4 separate regions of the Homo sapiens genome follow, and regions 2, 3 and 4 are each linked to region 1. The links are contacts of gene promoters, found by promoter capture Hi-C in blood cells and fetal thymus (Javierre and others, 2016). All regions are on one chromosome and are shown on one strand. The core of a region is centred on a gene start or on the middle of the fragment in contact, and the rest is flanking DNA. Distances in the headings are between cores, read along the strand shown.

Region 1 (4,840 bases), core at 1,642-4,141:
ACACAGAGCCTCCTTTTACAGAAGAGCAAATAAGCACAGAGTACAAAGGAGTTTAAAGGTTAGGCAAACATTCCTTCACCAGCTCAGAGGCAAATGTCCAGAAGAGAGCCTGACTGTTTCACTTTTAAGGAACAATGCTGTATAAATATGGCCACTGATACGTCAAAGTGACAGCCTAGGACTTGGTTCTAGGTGACTTTTACTTCAGCTTGGCAAACTTCAACTGTCCTGCTTGCTCCTTCTAAAACTCATTTTCTTTTTTTGAGACAGAGTCTCACTCTGTTGCCCAGGATGGAGTGCAGTGGCACAATCTTGGCTCACTGTAAACTTCACCTCCTGGGTTCAAGCAATTCTCATGCCTCAGCCTCCCAAGTAGCCGGGACTACAAGCGTACCACCATGCCCAGGTAATTTTTTGTATTTTTAATAGGGCTGGGGTTTCGCCATGTTGGCCAGGCTGGTATTGAACTCCTGAGCTCAAGTGATCCGCCCAACTCGGCCTTCCAAAGTGCTGGGATTACAGGCGTGAGCCATCACCTCTGGCCTCATTTTCTATTTATTAGTTTCTACTAGTTTTCGATTAATTTCCTCTATTAGAAGAAAAGATTCAATTCAGAGTTGCAAAGTAAAAACATACTTGGAAGTTACCATGAAATAAGAATACTAATGGTCAAAGCCTTATGATCAGAATGTAATCAATCTGTGAAGCTCAAAAGTTCAGTTAACTGTGTCTGAAGTGGAGATGCCAAAGATAAGCTCTATTTTATCAGTTGTTATCATGCGTATACGAAAAATGAAACATAAAAGCTCTATCTCCTGAACTCTTCCAATCCTTTCTTACTGATTCATGACCCCCACTTGCTTTTCTTATTTGGACATTCCACCCTTCCCCTAGTGCTCCGTGCTCCTTACTCAGGTTAAAGAAACTAAGCCTGGGCTAAAGAGCACTTGAAAATAAAGAAGTGCAAAGATGTAACCAAAAATTGCTAAAGACCATGTTTTCCTTACAACATTTCTGACTGTGGTTCTCTACAGGAAGAACCAGACCACTGCCATTTGCAGAAACATTTGCAAACACTTGTCCTGATGAAGGCATCGACTTACTGGAGGATTTCCTACGCCTTCTAGGAACAGATGTCATGCCCCTTTGTCACCAAGAACAGGGCAGTACCAGTCACAGGAGTCACTCACTGAAGGTGGACCAAATGCACTGTGACCCCAGCATGGAAGCCCTTCCAAAAGTTCCCATTTTTTCTTACAAGACAAACTGACGCCTTCCTCAAGACCCTCTCCTCTCTGCCTCCTCATCCACCTCTCCAGCGTGGTACTCAAAACACACCCTTCTTGAGTTACCCTTCCCACAGGCCTGAGATGTTCTGCGTGCTGCCTGGTTAATGCCTCCCTGACACCCCTGTCTGGGTCATCTTTCTTTCTAACACACTTTCACGGACCACACTCCTTCAGAACTCTTGCCTGGTTTTTAATTATTCACTCATTAGTATCACAATTGGATTAATACTGCATTCCCTCAATAGACTACGCTCCATGAGACCAGAGCCGTGTCTGCTGTGTTTCTGCAGGATGTACAGCCCTCCCAGCACGGTGCTCGCTTCCCTAATGCCATTCCACAGTATTTGTTGCAGAGAAGGAAGCAGCATGCCAGGACAGATGGAGACAGGACTAATTTGGCTTGAGGTATGTAATTTTGAACTTGAGCCTCTCTCTGGGACTGTAAAACTCCAAATCAAAGTCTTAATCTGAGAATACATACATCTGAAAGAGTGATTAGGGACTGGTAAACATCTATTAATATTCAACTCTGATACAAAGTACAAGTTGTTTATTCTTACCACGCAAGGCCAAAAAAGGGGAGAAAAAAAAAAAAGCACACAGCATATGCACTGGGAAAGCTTTCGCTTATTCAAAACAGTATTTGTCAAGCACCTCCAGGTCTGGGTGCTGCAGGGGAAACAAAGATTAAACAGCCAGGGCTTTGCTTCCAAGGTGCTTACGGTCTTAAGAAGGAGACAAGACATGTTTATAAATAGCCAAAATGCAACCCAGAAAAGGCTAAAAAACACTGAGAGGGAGGGAGAAATAAACGAAGCAAGAGGTCTCCGGAGGAAGAGATGAATGAATTAGCCTATTAATAACTCCTCACTGTAATCCCAATGTAAAGCAAGGAATTCCAAACCAGGAAAGGTCAAACTGAAGTATTTGAGGAACACAGGCGTCGCCCTAAGCCCTTCACAGGCTCGCTGGGGATAATATCGCAGCTGAAACCGAACATCAAGCTGGCTTTTCAAACCTTCAGTTATTTACATTAGACTGAGAGGGGAAAAGCGCTAAGAGTGCAAGAGCAGAGAAAGAGCAAGAGGAAACTTGAAAAGGCGGATCACGCCAATGCGCTGTGCACAGCGCCCCCGCGCCCCGCGCACCCGCTACCCCACCCGAGCCCCCAGCGGCCCGCGTCCCCCATCCCGGTCCCAAGCCCAGACACCTCCGAGATCCGTCCCCCGGCTCCGGCCGGCGCCACCGCCACCCTCAAGACCCCCGCAGCCCAGGCCCGGCCCCGCGCCACCGACGCCCCCCGCGGCCCGACCCGCGCGCCCCGCCAGCCCGGGCCTCGTACCGTAGGTTTCGGACATGGCCGTCTGCGACATCTTGGGAGCGGCGCCGCCTCTCGCCGGGTCACCGGCTGCACTCGCCCGCGGTCCGCCGGCGCGTCTCGGTGGGGAAGGACCTGGGGCGGGGGACCGGAGGAGGGAGGGGCCCGACCGGTCCCCACGGCAACCGCCGGTCTCCCAGCGGCTGCGGCCCAGCCGGACTCCAGCTCCGCGCAGGCGCAGGGCCCTCCACCCTCCGTCCGGCCGCGACCGCGAGGAGGAAGAGGAGATGGGCTACGCGAGGCCCGGCCCACCCCGCGTTCGCGCGTGCGCACGGGGAGGCCGGGGCGGGGCGCGTGAGGACTTCGGCGCGCGCCGGAAGCACGTGCGCGGGCTGGGCGCTCTGGCGGTGTGCGCTGAGGTGGGCAGAGCGGCAGGTGGGGGCGTTGGGGGCTGAGTCCCGATTTCCCTGAGGGAGGGTCGGGTAGAGGCGGGCGGTGGGCAGGTTTGGGGGTGACAGAGGGCTGGGGACAGTGGGGTCCAGTTGCCGGACAGAGGAGGAAGGTGCCCGCACTGGGGAGGAAAGCAGTCCATTTGCCAAATTGGCCCGTCTCAGTTAAGACGTTGTCTTCGGTCATCATCTGCGGCTGTCAGCCAGGAAAAAACTTCCCTGACGCTGTTACGATGGAGGCCAGAACTTGGTTAATGTGTAACAAGGAGGCAGTAGGCCCCAGGTGTCCAGCCAGAGGCCGCCCTGTGAATGGGAGGCAGGTTCATTTACCCGTTGGGAAGCTAAGCTTTCACTCCAAACTGCCGGGCCCTCTTGGATGGAGCTGAGCGGGTGTGGGCGGAATGACAGAAGCGCAAGATGCCCAGGTGCTAAAAGGTCATCGCAAGACTACAGGCTGCAGCCTCTCCACATCCCATTTTAGAGGGTTCTGGATTACGGTTGAGAAGTATCTCCCGGCCCTCAGCTGGGGATGTGTTTCCAAATTTAGGAGTTTTTTTAATTTTTATTTTTTAACAGGGTCTGGCACTGTCAGCCCAGCCCAACCGATTCTCCTGCCTCAGCCTCCTGAGTAGCTGGGGCTAGGGGCTCACACGACCACACCGCGCCAATTTTTAAATTTTTTGTAGAGATGGGGTCTTGTTATGTTGCCCAGGCTGGTCTTGAACTCCTGAGTTCAAGCATCCTCCCTCCTTGGCCTCCCAAATTGCTGGGATTACAGGCATGAGTCATCTCACCTGGCCTTGGATAGTTTGGTTTCAGAAGCAAAACTGAGTTAGAATCCCCTTCTGTGGGAAATGTAGAGATAAACATTTATGGGAAAGAGAATTTTGGTTGAGGATTTGGCCCATCTGAGCTTGATCAGGGCCACATAGCGCCTCATAGTTCCCAACCTTGTTCACAATAGGTAGTCGAATGCTCAAAATATCCTTGGCTAAGCTCCCAAGTGACCTGGACTGTGTGGAAAATGCCAGTACATACTTTTGTGTGTGTGTGTGTGAGTCAGTTTGGCTCCATCCTCCACATAAATTGGCATCAGAGCTTCCCTCTTCCCCAGTGGCTATTTGGGTCGGTATTTTTCTCTTGTCTCCGATCCTAATAACAAATAAATGCAGTTTTTTCTAAATCACAGAGAAGGCCCCATGGTGAAAAGTTGTGACAGCTGTAATTCCTAAAACTGTTTTATATATATTTCTTGTTCAGTGGCTCAGATCATTTGTTGCTTTCTTGTTTGTCTCTCTGCATGTCGTGTTTGATTTAGGCTCCTGAGTATAACAGATTGGTTCTGATTAAAACCATTTCAGAGGAAAGACAGTGATCCCAGGAAGCGGGAAGAAAACAGCATCACCTGAAGTTATTCCTATTCGTTAGATTTGTTTTCTTCCTGCGAAAAACTGCTATGTACAAGAAAGAAGTCAGTGAGCTGCAGTGATAGTTAGCATTATTGACTGAAACTGGACCAGAGATCCCTGAAACCTGGACAAGGTGGTAGAAATACAAATTATGCTGCCATTTCAAAGCTGTGGGCAGTTTTCTACTTTGTGGAAAATGAAGACTTAGGTAGGCCTTTGGGAAAGACGATTTGTTTTGGAAAAACCACCCAAAGGGATCATTTGGTTTGCAAATGTAACTGCAGTATCACAACTGGAAGAAGAAATATACAAGGGCGAGGTTTGAAGGAGCCCTTCAGTATCCTTGGATGATACTGTGGAAGATTCTTTGCATCT
Region 2 (4,840 bases), core at 2,194-4,693, 1.2 Mb after region 1:
AACAGGATGTTCCAGCATAAAGAGGTACCCTCTACTCAGTCTTTGTTCCTACCTTTGGAAAACTCATTGTTCTACTGTTTCCCACTGGATTTCAGGAGCAAATAAGTACATTTACTATGGTGATAGTGACAACAACTAAAGTTTTGGTCAATCTCTCAAAATTGAGAAAATGACCAAAAGAGGGTAGTTGCTGAAGCAAACTAAATATGGCCTGAGAAGGACTTCATATTTTTATATTTGAGTCCTTGTGGATGAACTGCAACCTAGCTTAATAGGTAGATAGATTGAAAACCTAACAGGAGTATGCAACTGTAACAATAGCTGCGTCTTGGCCAATCCCAGAGGCTGCACTTCAACTATTCATATACTGCTGAGCGTTCAAACTGTGTTCAAATACGGCAAACACCAACCTGAAACCAATCCAGCTGTTTTGTACTTTACTTTCAATTTCTGTACATCATTTACCTTTTTTTGTCTACGAATCTTCCACCACGTGGCTGTGCTGGAGTCTCTGTGAATCTGCTGTGATTCTGGGGGCTGCGTGATTCGTGAATCATTCATTGCTCAATTAAACTTTAAATTTAATTCGGCTGAAGTTTTTATCAAGTGTAAACCAAAAATAAAAAATAAATTTATAAGGCTCCCCAGCCATCTAAATGGACTTCCTCCTCGGCCAGGGAACTCTTAAAAAAAATTTTTTTTTTTTGACGGAGTCTTGCTCTGTCACCCAGGCTGGAGTGCAGTGGTGCGATCTCTGCTCACTGCAACCTCTGCCTCCCAGGTTCAAGTGATTCTCCTGCCTCAGCCTCCTGAGTAGCTGGGATTACAGGTGCGCACCACCATGCCTGGCTAATTTTTGTATATTTTTTAGTGGAGACCGGGTTTCACCATGTTGGCCAGGCTGGTCTCGAACTCCTGACCTGAAGTGATTCGCCCACCTCTGCCTCCCAAAGTGTTGGGATTACAGGTGTCAGCCACTGTGCCTGGCCTGGAACTCTTAAAATTTAACCTCAAAGACTGGTTCAGGCCATAAGAAGTGGGGGTCAGACATGCCTCATTATACCTCTCTGGCATTAACATCAACATAGACTTTAAGTCCGATAAACATTTTACAACCTATTCTCTCTGAAGCCTAATACCTGAAGGCTTCATCTGCAAATAAGAACTTTGGTCTCCACAATCATATATATATATATTTTTTTTTCTTTCCTTTTTTTTTTTTTTTAGATGGAGTCTCACTCTATTGCCTAAGCTGGAGTGCAGTGGCGCAATCTCGGCTCACTTCAACCTCCGCCTCCTGGGCTGAAGTGATTCTTCTGCCTCAGCCTCCTGAGTAACTGGGATTACAGGCACACACCACCACGCCCAGCTAATTTTTGTATTTTTAGTAGAGAGGAGGTTTCACCATGTTGGTCAGGCTGGTCTCGAACTCCTGACCTCGTGATCCGCCTGCCTTAGCCTCCCAAAGTGCTGGGATTACAGGTGTGAGCCACTGCACCCCACCCACAATCTTTTATCTTAACCCAGACATTCCTTTCTGTTAATCCCAGGTCTTCAGGTAAATTCAACCAATTGTCAAACAGAAAATTTTTCAATCTACCTATAAGCTGGAAGCCAGCACCCTTGACCCCTGCTTCGAGTTGTCCTGCCTTTCTGAACCAAACCAATGTAGGTTTTAAATGTATTTGATTGATGTCTCATGCCTCCCTAAAATGTATAAAACCAAGCTGCACCCCAACCACCTTGGGAACATGTTCTCAGGACCTCTGTCCTGAGGGCTGTGTCACAGGCCATGGTTACTCATATTTGGCTCAGAATATATCTCTTAAAATATTTTACAAAGTTTGACTCTTTTCATCAACAGCAGCAAGCCACCAGCATTCCCAGTGAGGGAAGGGTAAAGGGAACTTTTTATCAGTGAAAAGGGAACTTTTATCAGCGAAAAGGGAGCGGTTCACAGAAGCTGCTTAGAAAGAGTTCATTGGTTCCAGGGGCCCAACGCCAAAGCTCAAAGTTGTCCTCAGTTCATTGGTGGCGCTGCCATTACTGGGCAAGTGTTTATTCCGAGCATCTTAACTGAATTACTGCAGTCCTAAAGATGGTCTAAATTTTGTCAAAGTAGGAGACCCGTGAATGACACAAAAGGGTTTCTTGTGGGGTTTTTAGAAAGTCCTTGCGAATAATTCTTATCTCAGACACTAAGCCTGAGCCTCCTGTTCTTCCCAGCCCTGTTTGTCTGGGCCTGACAAAGTGATTTCACTCCTTATTTGTAACTTTCACAAAACAAAGGCCCTGGTCTCATGAACTCATTGCACAAAGTGACCCTGGTTCGCTGAGGCAGATAGGCGATGCTATCTGCCTGCCCTGGTCCAAACATCTCATCTGGAATACTGCAGGCCAGTGGAAATGCCCGGAATAAGCTCTGTTTACAAGGTAATAGCGAGCCTCTCTGGCATTTCAGAAATGCGTGACAGCTGCTTCCTTAGGGCCCTCCCCACTCCATTTTGGTTACGTTGTGACATAAATTACTCCATTTTGCTGTGAACTACAGGGTCATTTCTCAGCCCCCGCCAACCCCGCGGATCCCCCCTCAGCCCCGCTGTATCAGCCTTTCGGATCCTCCTTCAGCCTCTCAGGTCCTCCTCAGCCCGCTGCGTGCCTCTTCAGCCCCCCTTGAACTTCCGTCATCCCCACAGATCCTCCCTCAGCCTCCCTAGATTCCCACCTCAGCGCCCATGGATCCTCCCTCACTGCCCCCTGGGACCTCCCTCAGTTCTGCAGATTCCCCCCTTAGCCTCCTGGGACCTCTCTCACCCCTTCTAGATCCTCTCTCAGCCCCGCAGATCCTTCCGCAGCTCCCCCTGGATCCTCCCTCAGCCCAGCTGGTGCCCACTCAGCCCCGCGGATCCTCCTTCCCTCAGCCCCCGCCCGGGTGCTCCCGCAGTCCCCCTGGGTCCTCCCTCAGCCCAGCTGATGCCCCTTCAGCTCCGAGGATCCTCCCTCAGCCCCCCTGCGTCTTCCCTCAGCCCCCTGCGTCCTCCCTCAGGACCCCTGGGTCCTCCCTCAGCCCTCCGGGACCTCTATCAGCTCTCCTGGATCCTCCCTCAGCCCTGCGGATCCTCCCTCAGCTCCCCACCCCGGGTCCTCCCTCAGCACTCCCCCACTCCGTCCTCCCTCAGACCCGCGGGTCCCCCTCGACCTCGCCGGCCCGCCCTGGTCCTCCCGGTAGGGACGGAGGTCACCTGCTCGCCGGCCCCGCCTGGGTTCTTGTACCGCCACAGCGCCCCCGCAGGCCCCGCCCACCTAGGCTTCGTCCCGCCCCCGAGATTACATCACGCCGCGCCGGCCCCGCCCAACAGGGGCGTATATCTTCGTGTCTCACCGCCCACTCTTGCCTCTCCCTGCCATGGAACACGTCATACCGCGCGACGCAGCGCCTGCCAGTGACGTCGTGGGCTGCAGCGCAGCAGCACCCAACGCAGTGAGTACCTTGATCTCCTGCGTGGCCTCGTCCCTGGTCTTAGTTCCACCGGGCAGCGGGAGTCAGGACCGCCTGTCCTCAGACCCCTCCGCAGCGACTGTGGCGGCCGCAGGTTGGCGCCTCGTGTGGGCCGGGAACAGAGGCGGGAGGCGCTGTACCCTCCCGGTGGAGTCGGGAGGGAGGGAGGCAGGGAAGGGGACAGGGGGCTGCACCTGTGATAAGCCCTTGTCCCCATGCAGTCTAGCAGGAAAGGAGAGGGAGCTTTCCCCGAAGACCCTCCTGGACCAGCCCCAGGCTCCTGTGCTGGTGAGGCCGAGGGAGAGGGATGTGGGCATAGGACACGTAGCAGGATTTCCATTTTAGAGGCAGCCGGACCTGTCTTCAGGTCCCTTCCTTGGTGAGAGACAGGGGTACGCCAGAGGAAGCTGGGCGCTCGGCCTCTGTGCAGCCTCATCTCCTGGAATCTGAGTATTGAAAACTGGGCTTTTACTTCGCACACCTCAGCACAGACTCCCATGGGAATCCAGGTCACAGCAAAGCAGCCCTGGGCCTCCATTCTCCTTTAAGCAAGCATGACAATCCTCACTTCACTGAGTTTTTATTAAAACTAGCAATGACCTTAGAAAGCAAGGCATGACCTCAGCTCCACTTTTGAGGCTGCAGTCCATTCAGAGAGGTTTCGCAGACTCGGTAACGGCCAGAACAGACAGCCTGGGCCCTGCCGCAGGCTGACTCAGAATCTTTGGGAGTAGTGACCAACTTCTGCTTTTGGAAAAACCTCTACAGGCGGTTCTGAGAAGTCCAAGGGTTGCTGGGAGAGGTTGGTGAGTGGCGTGGTGATTACATGTGTCTTGGAAGCATCCTGGGCTGGGATTTGATAAGAAACCATTAGGTGGAAGAACCTTCCTTTTAAAAAAGATCTCTTCATTCTCTGCCTAGCAGGTTGCACGCCAGGGCCTGTACTGACCACCTCCACGTGCCACTGGGGCTGTAAGGAGGAATGGCGGCCGTGGGCAGCCTGCTTGGGTAAGCATGGACTTTTAGGTCCCTGGGGATTACTGTCAGGGGCCACCCCAGGGAACCCCTCTCTTCAGCAGGAAACCGCCATTCTAATCCTCCCTAGTCCTTGCTATTGTCCACTGTCCCCTGTGCTGGAAGCTTTGTGCCCTTGCTCAGCCTGGCAGCCTCTTCCTGGCTAGGGGGCCAGAACGCCTCTGACCACAGCCTGTGGCTCCTGAGGAAGCCCCGAGGCTCATCCTGCCCCGGCACGGGTCACCAGCTCTGGTAATGTCTCCTGTGGCCCGGCAGTGCCCAATCACAGCCAGCCTCAGTCATGTTGGCACTCTGCTGCAGCACTGT
Region 3 (4,840 bases), core at 1,460-3,959, 1.0 Mb before region 1:
TTCCCTCCACCGTCAGACTGGATTCTGCAGCCTGTAGCTGCAGCCTGTATTGGCTGCTGTTATTACCACAGCCCTAAGGGCCTCCACCATTCTCCTCGCACTCCTCAAAAGGTTCCAGAATCTGGGGTGAGCGCTCTTGTCAGAAGCTGGAACAGGAGGAAGCAATGTTCAAGAGCACTGGTGTGTGCAGAATGCCAAGGACCCCAGGAGAGCTGCAACTGCCCGCTCGTGACTGTGGACGATCACCATGTCCCCAGCTCTGCCAGCAAATACCACCCAGTCAGATGCTTTCATGATTGCAGTTCAAAACGAAAACAAAAAGGGCACGATATTGGCTTTAGCAGCGTTATCCTGACAGTCACAATGTGGACATTGTTTTTCTTACCGTAGAAAATCTCTGTATAAAATGAGATGACGGATCCCACTTTCCAAGGTTGTTTTTTTTTTTAATCACAAATGATTTTGAGGGCTGAGCACAGTGGCTCACAGCTGCAATCCCAGCAGTTTAGGAGGCCAAGGCAGGAGGACCGCTTGAGGCCAGGAGCTTGAGACCAGCCTGGGCAACATAGTGAGACCCCATATCTACAAAACAGAGAAGATTTTGAGAAGCTTGTGCTTCTCCATCTAACATAGGAATTCAAGTGTTTTTACAGCACATTATAACAAACATGCCTTGTTTTTCTACAAGCCAAAAATAATTTTCAAACACTCTTAAAATGTTAACGATTTCAAATCTTTGCAGACCCTTTAGTAAGCACTAAATTTACCTTTACTTTTGTTGTGTTTATCCCTGATGTAATGATTTATTTTATAAAATCAGAGCCTTCCCTTTACCACTATCTTTTATATGATTTCCCCTCATTTTCTTTTCCACATTTCATGGCCTCTGACTCTGTCCTTTACAAATATCTATTCCTTCTCTTTCTCCCTCCCTCCTCTTCCTCCCTCTCTTCTTCCCTTCTCCTCTTCCCCTCCCCCACATTCCTTTGCTGAGCACAGATAATCCATGTCCCCAGATGTCCCCCTCTGGATGCCCGTCCCCTAGCCCATCACCTGGCATACAGGTTCTCCAGCCTCAGGGTTCCCACGGTGCACAGGGACCTTCCCCTCTCAACGGTAGTAGGGTGAGGACATAACCTTTTGTATCCAAGACATTTTGAGGGTAGAGACATCCATAACGAGGAAAAACTCCAACAAGGAGGATTCAAAAGACCGTTTATAGATGAATAGGATAATGGGATTTAGTTTACTGATCCCAGGGCCCAGCCTTCCCTGCCACATTGACTGAATGCTGATCACATCTCCCAGTGGTGCTGGGGCGCAGTAGCTCATGCCTATAATCCCAGCACTTTGGGAAGCCAAGGCAAGAGGATCACATGGGGCCAGGAGTTCCAAACCAACCTGGGAAACATAGTGAGACCCTGTCTCTGAGAAATAGAATTTAAAAATTTAGCTGGGCTGGGTGCTGTGGCTCACACCTGTAATCCCAGCACTTTGGGAGTCTGAGGTGGGTGGATTGCTTGAGGTCAGGAGTTCAAGACCAACGTGGCCAACATGGCAAAACCCTGTCTCTACTAAAAATACAAAAATTAGCTGGGCTTGGTGGCACACGCCTGTAATCCCAGCTACTAGGGAGGCTGAGGCAGGAGAATCACTTGCAGCCGGGACGTAAAGGTTGCAGTGAGCCGAGATAGCGCCATTGCACTCCAGCCTGGGTGACAGAGCAAGACTTCGTCTCCAAAAAAAAAAAAAAAAAAAAAATTAGCTGGGCATGGTGGCATGCACCTGCAGCCTGCAGTCCCAGTTACTTGGGAGGCTGAGGCAGAGGATCGCTCAAGCCCAGAAATTCAAGGCTGCAGTGAGCACTGATTGCACCACTGCACTTCAGCTTGGGCTGAAGGATCACTTTAGCCCAGGATCACTTTAGCCCAAACAAGACGCTGTTTGTTTGAAACAATAACAACAACAACAAAAACAAACAAACAAAAAAACAGAACCATCTCCCAGGGCTGTGGGCCTTTGGGGACATGCACAGGAATACACACAAAAAAAGACAAACATGTTCTAGTTTGAGCAGAAGAATAGTACAGGGCAAGTGGACTAAGTCATTCATTCAAAACACTTTAATTGAGCTCTTCCAAATCAGTAGGCACTATGCTAAACACTAAGGGTATAAGCAAGGACAGTCTTTGCCATCAAGGGCTGTCAAATAGTGGGAGAGACACAAACGCAATATCTCATGTGGCCAGAGTGATAATAGTATGTAAAAATTAATCAAGGAATGAAGCCCGTATTTTCCCAACCACAAATGGGGATACATGAATCATGTTCTGTCTCTGGGGCAGAATATTTTAAAAGTAATTGCTATGGGAGACTGACATGGCCAGAGAGAGGTCAGGTGTGGATGTTATTCTACAGAATGAGTAGACTCGTTTTTTGGAACAAACCCACGTGACACTAGCTGATTTAGAGCCAAAAAGCTCAGGGATTTGTCACTGGGAGGATCTTGGGCCAATAGACATGAGTCTGAAAATTCTGCCCAGGTTAAACCACCCTGACAGTACCAGGCAAGAGAATGTGAAGTCTATACACATTAAAAATTTCTGGTTCCAATTCCTGGGGAGGCTGGAGCAAGAGGATCACTTTAGCCCAGGTAGTCGAGGCTGCAGTGAGCTATGGTCACGCCACTGCACTCCAGCCTAGATAAGACACAGTGAGACCCTGCCTCTAAAACTTAAAAATTAAAAAAGAAACCTGCCTAAAGGAACAGTAACCAGTCTGGAGGGAGGAGGCTCTCGATCCCGAAGAAGCCAAAGGTAACTGGACACGAGATTTTTCTGTGCCAAGCATTTCCCAGTTAGGCTGTGGCTGATTCACCCTCTCTGTCCCCCTCTCACACTCTCCTCAGTCCCAGGAACTAGAAAAAGATGGAGAGCTGTCCTTCCCTGAGTCGCCCCAACCCTTAGCAGCAGTCTGACCTTATGCGGCCTGAGTGAGGCCCAATGCTGGTAGCGGCTCTGTTCACACTCACCCTCCAGCAAAGCAAACGTCGAGAGACCAGGAGAGGGGAGTCCAACCCCAAAAAGGAGAGCCAGTGCCTGCGAGAATAAGTGTGTTCATGGAGTTAACAGGATGGAATACTTCAAAATCCAGGATGCCCTGAAACTATATGTACATCTATTAGATATCAATTAAAAATTATCTTAATTAAAAAAAATAAAAATAAAAATCCAGGATTGTTGTCCTGGCATGGATGGAATGAAGAAGGGCCTAGGAGAGTGGGAAGGTGTAGGCAGATTTGTCTGATTTTAACAGAGTTAAAACGAAAAATATGTAATTAACAACCTGCTCCCAAACCAAATTTTCACCCTCCCCCTTTTCGGACTGTCCACCTTCTTTGAGATGAAGCCTTTCCCATGGCTGCCCAGCAGAGGGCAGCAGAGGACACCTTATGAGCCTCCGTCCCCTGCACACAATAGCGCATTCGTTCAACAAATGCCTTCGGAGTTTGGAGTGGACAGTGTTCCAGGCACTGTGGACACTGCCCTAAATAAGACAGACGAGGTCTCTGCTGGTCCAGAGCAAGGGGAGAGAACAATAAGCAAAGTCATGGAGACTATAGCACCGTAAAGTGATGGGGACAGGAATGGAAAAGGGGCTTGCTGATTCCACATTTCGGCTTCCAGCCAGTGTTTACCAGTACTTGTTAGGGGCCGGGCACTTCTGGGGACAGTCACCAACACAGAGGCCCCTGCCTTCATGGAGCTTACGTTCCACAGGAGGAGAGAGCACCATAAACACAAAAAGGGTCACAGAATCTTTTTTTTTTTCAAGACAGTTTCGCTCTTGTCCCCCCAGGTGGAGTGCAATGGCGCGATATCGACTTACTGCAACCTCCACCTCCCGGGTTCAAGTGATTCTCCTGCCTCAGCTTCCTGGATTCTCCTGCCTCAGCTTCCTGAGTAGCTGGGATTACAGGCACGTGCCACCACGCCTGGCTAATTTTTGTATATTTAGTAGAGACAGGGTTTCACCATGTTCACCAAGCTGGTCTCGAATTCCTGACTTCAGGTGATCCACCCGCCTTGGCCTCCCAAAGTGCTAGGATTATAGGCGTATGCCACCACACCCGGCCTCAGCAGAATCTTTTAAAGGACACCGAGTGTTACGGAAAAGGAAAACATAGAGCAGGATTTGGGGAGTGTCGGGGAGTGGGGAGCAGCAGGCTGGTGTAGCCACGCTCCCTGAGAGGCCAGATTGGAGCAAGGTCTGACAAGAGGGACTGCCAGGTGACTCCGAGGACCCACCACAGTCTGGTCCACAGCTGTTCTATGTTGGAATCACTGCGGGTGCCTGGGTTCCACCCGAGGCCTAGGTTGAGGACCTCTGGCCTAGAGCAAGGTTTCTGGGCAGCCCTGTCTCTCACCCCTTATGCCTTCCTCTCCATTTTACAAATGAGAATAGTGACGCTCAAACACGCTCACGCCTCCCTAAGTAAAGGACGGTCAGGATTTGAACCCAGAAGTATTTGAACCCAAAACTCCCATGTTTCCTCAGCATCACACCGTCTCCCAGACCACGTGACTCGTCTCTCTTTTGGAAAATATCTAGGAGCAAATGGCTCTTCCCGCCACTACACCCAACAAACATCTGGATTGTTCTGTGTCATTGGTTAACTTGCAGGGACACAGTCAAGGTGGTAAGGAGGTTGTGCCTCCTGACCCGGGACAGCTTAGCCTTCCCCTGACCCATAGGACGCTGTGGGTCACCAACAGGCAGCAGGGACACAGTGGAGCCACCCAAGCTTCTGAGGTCTTCCCTGCCTTGGACCTTTATTGCC
Region 4 (4,840 bases), core at 1,424-3,923, 1.0 Mb before region 1:
TGTCAAGATACTTAATAATAATTGCAAAGAATATTTTTCCTTATAAGATAACATTTAAGGCTCTAGAAATTAGGACCTGTGATCTGAGAAACCAAAATAGACACCCCTTTATCAACTAAGACAGACCCTGAGGTTAAAGAAACAAAAGGTACCTAGGAGTTGAGGGTTCGGGGCCCAGCTGGCATGGAAAATTTCTAAATTCTTATGGCTGCAAGGAAAACCACTGTCTTGCAAAACTCCCTAACAATAGAAGCTATCAGGCAAATGATCAGATCCTGCCTCACTCGGCTTTATACCCCAGACCACAACAACTCTGTTGGACAGAGGACCAGCCTTACAAATGTTCTTTTCTGATAAACACCTGCAGACTTGAAGCCAGTTTCAGCAGCTTATAGAGGCTGCGCACAAACTTTGTGTCATATAGTTCACCTTCTGACTTGAGCCAAATGCCACCTCATTTTAATGCTAAAACCTTGCCCCAAAATGAGCATGGGATGTATGTTATATATATGGTTACCCATTGCACATGTGCTCAACTCCCCTCATAAACATGCATAGCGTCTCCCCCAAACCTGCTGAATATGTATTGTTTTTTGGGGTAATGCAGACCTCGTTAGGCATAAAACCCAGCCTCTCCGTTCCCCTCTGAAGAGCGCACCTTCAGTCCACACTGGAGATGATCTCTTCCCAGTTTGCAAGCTGATGCTACCAATATAGCTCTCCTTCCTACTAGTGAGCCATTCTGATGGCCTTTTGGATAACAGACCTTAATATCTTTGGTCAGGCCATTATTCAGCCTACCAGAGTCCTCCCTTGGGTCTCCAAAGATTCATGTCTGTTCCACATGCAAAATATATTTACCCCATTTCAATGTTCCCAAAAGTCTCAATCCACTACAATCAACTCATGTCCAAAATCTCATCTAAATCTCATTAACTCAGAAATTCCAAATCACAGCATCTGATTAAGATATGGGTTAGACTCTGGATCTGATTCATCCTGGAAAAAAATTCCTTCCTATCTCTGGACCTGTGAAACTAGAAAATCAATTTATTCCAAAAGCAATGTGGTATAACAGGTGTGGTATAACAGCGAAACAATGATAGACTCTCCCATTCCAAAAGGGAACAGTGAAAGGAAGAAAGGAGTCATGAGTCTCACGCAATGAAGGACTCCAGCAGGGCAGGAGTTCCATTAGGGCACGTTCCATTAGGGCTCGGGGCTGGTGATAACCGTCTATGGCTTGGGCTCCACCCAATGGGCTCATGGCTCTATATGAGAGATTGGGACCTAACATCTTTGCGTGGCAATTATTCAGTCTACTATAAATATAGGTTGGTGCAAAAGTTATTAAACATAATGGCAAAAACCCCAATAACTTTTGCACCAACCTAATACTATCCAAGTGTCAGTTGATATTATTGTATCAACTGTATCAAAGTGTATCTATTTGTTTGCTTATTTTTGTAGAGATGAGGTCTTGTGTTGCCCAAGCTGGTCTTGAACTCCTGGCCTCAAGTGATCCTCTTGCCTTGGCCTCCTGAGTCGCTGGGAGGACAGGCATGAGCCACCGCGCCCAGCCTCAGAATGTATTTTTTTTACTAAAAGTATAACACTTTCAGCACAGTTGTATCTTAGCAATCCCCAAGACAAGTCTGACTGATGGGCATTGCTCAGGCCATCTGGCCCTTATGGAACTAAACTTTCTGGCCCCTTCTTTCTTTCTGGCCTGCAGGTCAGCTCCGGCTGATGCCTGGTGTGGGTGGGATTATGAACAGAGGCAGAACTGATTTGAACTGGACCCACCATCTCTGGGCAGCCCTCCACAAGCCATTTCATTCCTTGAGCACATTGTACCCTTTCCAGTCTCTCTCTAGGGCCCCTCTCCCCGAATGCTTGGGAGCAGGATAAGGGATTGAAGGCTCCTGTCCTGAAGCTGTTTACCTGTTTGCTCACAGCACCTGCCAGGCCACCGAGTCTGAGCAATTCTATGGTCATCCTGCCCTCTCCAAAGAGCAGGCTTTCCCATGGGGAGACACTACAGATTCTCACATGAATGACGTCCCTGTCTGCTGCCTCTTGCGTGCTCCTTGCCATAAAGTCTTTCCACAAACGATGGTTGGAAAGACCTAGACTTTGAAGAGGCCAGCATAGTCCCTGCAGAAGGAGGAGAGAGGCAGGTTGACACAGGCCTCCTGGTATGAAAGTTCCTGGGATCTGTCTCCTTCCACAATGACAGCACCACAGCAAATCCAGCATCCTCAGGCCGAGAGGGTGATGGGGCTGGCGTCCATTCTCGGGCTTAGCTTCTCCTTTCTCTCCAGCTGCGTTCAGCTGCTCACTGATGCCCATCTGCTGGTTCCCCCTGTTCACTGACTCCTCTGCCTCAAATCCCACGTCCTGGGTGCTCAGAGCCTCCCAGGCTGAATGCCAGTGTGTCCCAGCCTGGATGCCAGCGTGCACGTGGTTTAATCCTGAGGGCAGTGAACATCTGTGTGTTTTCCTAACAGGAGGATGCCTTCATACAAAGCTCTCAGGGAAAAGCATTGACAAGCTTATTGGAGGGGGCTCTTCATCTCCAGGATGGCAGTGTGACCCACCCGAAGAGTCCAGCCAGGCATCGGGAGCACAGGTGCCTTCCACTAGAGCATGCTGCCTGATCCACACACGGACACGGGTGCATCTGGCTCTCTGGGTCTCTGCCTTCTCTTGCTGCCTGTGAGGCCATCATCTGATTCTCAGGGCAGTGCAGGGTTAGTTAGTAGTGGATGAGTCAAGTTAATGAAGCTTAATAATCAGGTTAATGAACTGTGGCTCTCCCCTCTGGGAGACACATATTGTAGCAGCAGCCGCCACAGGACAAGTGATTTTAATAACACCACAGGTGGCGTGCTAGCAGGACAGGTGTGGACACGCTGAGAGAGGCTTTTCAAAATCTCTCCATTTCATTGCCCAGGCAACAGCTCTTGGAAAGGCCGCTGACATGCAGGCTGTGTCCATGAGCTTTCCCATCCGCTCCTTGCTCTAAGGGTGTCTCCCATGGACACGTCAGAGAGGCCCTCCCTAGAATAATGCACCCCTGAGACGGCCTCACGATTTGGATTTGCTGCCTCTGGGACTAACTTGGCTAAAATTAAAACAAAAACAAAAACAAACAAAGAAAAAATGTGTTTGGGGAGAAAACATCTGAATTTTTAGAGCAAGAGAAGGAGAGAGAGGAAGGGAAAGAGAGAGGCAGGTTGAGAGAGAGAGGGAGGGAGGGAGAAAGAGAGAGAGGGAGAGGGAAAGAGAGAGGGAGCAGGAAAGAGAGGTTGAGAGAGAGAGAGGAGGGAAAGAGAGAGGCAGGTTGAGAGAGAGAGAGGAGGGAAAGAGAGAGGCAGGTTGAGAGAGAGAGGGAGGGAGAAGGAAAGAGAGAGAGGTGGAGAGGGCAAGAGCCTGCGAGAGGCAATTAATGACAGTCAGTCAGGTATGTGAGACCCAAGCTGCCAGCCTGAGCTTCTCTTCTCCCAGAACGGCCATTATGAAAAGGGGCTTTTGACAGACAAGAGCGCCCATCACTCTGGCAGCTGTGCCCCGGCCCCCTCTCCGACCTCGCCTCGCCGGGATGCGGTGTCCTTCTCAGGAGCCCTGCTATCCCTGGCAGCAGGAAGAGGACATGGTGGACATTTCCTGATTCTATTCACCTGACGTGGCTAGAGCCCCAAGAACCTATTTCCTCCCTTTCCTCACCTGCTTGGAGCATCCAAGGGCACAGGAATAGGGGACCTGAGGTCACGCTGTCATTCGAATCCAAGGGAGAGTGTGAGGAGCCGGGCGGCAGAGCAGCACCCCAGGGTGAGGGGCAGAGAACAGCCACCGTAGAGGAGGACCTGCCACTCCCCGCTTCACCACTTGCCCCCTCACCGGTCCCCCATTCACGGCTCCCCGCCTCACCGCTCCCCACCTCACCGCTCCCTCCTTCACCGCTCCCCACCTCACCGCTCCCCCCACACCGCTTCCCTCCCTCACCGCTCCCCCCTCCCCCTCACCGTCACTGCTCCCCACTTCACCACTCCCCACTTCACCGCTCCCCCCAGGGAGCTGGCCCTATACCCAGCCGCTTCCTTAAAGAGTTAGCACAAACAAAGCAATTAAGTGTCTGAAATTCTTCAAAAGGAAGAACTTGTACTAAGATGATTTCTTCCTTTTTTTACACACAGGGTCTCACTCTTTCACTTAGGCTGGAGTGCAGTGGCACAGTCACAGCTCACTGCAGCCTCCAACTCCTAGGCTCAAGCGATCCTCCCACCTCAGCCACCCAAGTAGCTGGGACCACAGGTGCACACCACCACACCTGGCTAATTTTTTAATTTTTTGTAGCAACAGGGTCTCACTATGTTGTCAAGGCTGGTCTCCAACTCCTGGGCTCAAGTCATCTTCCCGCCTCAGCCTCCCAAAGTGCTGGGATTATAGATGTGAGCTACTGCCCCAGGCCTAAAATGATTCCTTAAACACACTTCTTAGTTCTATTTCCTGGCCTTTCAGGTGAGGTGGAAAAGGGTGGCCCAGACTATCATTTTATTCATCACCCAAATCTTTCATCCAGGAGAAGAAGAACAGAGAGGTTAGAGGGCTGTGTTTAGGTGGGTTACATGCAGACCTGTTTCTAAAGTGCAGAGAGGGAGCTGGCAGCCTCAGCCCCAAGCTCAGCATCCATGAGGGATTCTACTTTCTGGGTAACTGTGCAGATCAAGGCCTGATTCTTCACCTCCATGAGCTCTCACTGTCTGCATTTGAATACTCTCTGCAACCCTTATTCATTTTGTTACCTACTTTGATTTTTAGAATGTCTGTCACTCAA

What was found. Contacts are between HindIII fragments. The CHiCAGO score rates a contact against its expected background, and 5 or more counts as called.
Region 2: the fragment with the promoter of MRPL55 here is called in contact with the fragment with the promoter of RAB4A in region 1 in 1 of 17 cell types (monocytes); the score reaches 5.8 in monocytes.
Region 3: a contact is called between a fragment that was not itself captured here and the fragment with the promoter of RAB4A in region 1, in 1 of 17 cell types (fetal thymus). The highest score is 6.0, in fetal thymus.
Region 4: a contact is called between a fragment that was not itself captured here and the fragment with the promoter of RAB4A in region 1, in 1 of 17 cell types (naive B cells). The highest score is 5.6, in naive B cells.

Annotation. Positions count from the first base shown.
Region 1 is chr1:229,269,162-229,274,001 of GRCh38, reverse strand. It overlaps RAB4A (RAB4A, member RAS oncogene family), which reads right to left and starts at 2,891. Exons shown (of 8, transcript NM_004578.4): 1 at 2,632-2,891. The coding sequence starts at 2,662. It overlaps RAB4A-AS1 (RAB4A antisense RNA 1), which reads left to right and starts at 2,848. Exons shown (of 2, transcript NR_149313.1): 1 at 2,848-3,026. RefSeq lists silencers at 2,350-2,509, 2,550-3,079. The HindIII fragment of the contact is 1,493 bases long and covers 1,912-3,404 here.
Region 2 is chr1:228,107,902-228,112,741 of GRCh38, reverse strand. MRPL55 (mitochondrial ribosomal protein L55) reads left to right here and starts at 3,443. Exons shown (of 5, transcript NM_181463.3): 1 at 3,443-3,593; 2 at 3,721-3,787; 3 at 4,424-4,507. The coding sequence starts at 4,482. RefSeq lists a silencer at 2,998-3,087 and enhancers at 3,358-3,527, 3,796-4,509, 4,510-4,840. The HindIII fragment of the contact is 15,311 bases long and covers 1-4,641 here.
Region 3 is chr1:230,309,352-230,314,191 of GRCh38, reverse strand. No RefSeq gene overlaps it. Among named protein-coding and RNA genes, the nearest start is that of PGBD5, 110 kb to the left of the region's middle. The HindIII fragment of the contact is 4,195 bases long and covers 612-4,806 here.
Region 4 is chr1:230,291,021-230,295,860 of GRCh38, reverse strand. No RefSeq gene overlaps it. Among named protein-coding and RNA genes, the nearest start is that of PGBD5, 130 kb to the left of the region's middle. RefSeq lists an enhancer at 24-525. The HindIII fragment of the contact is 233 bases long and covers 2,557-2,789 here.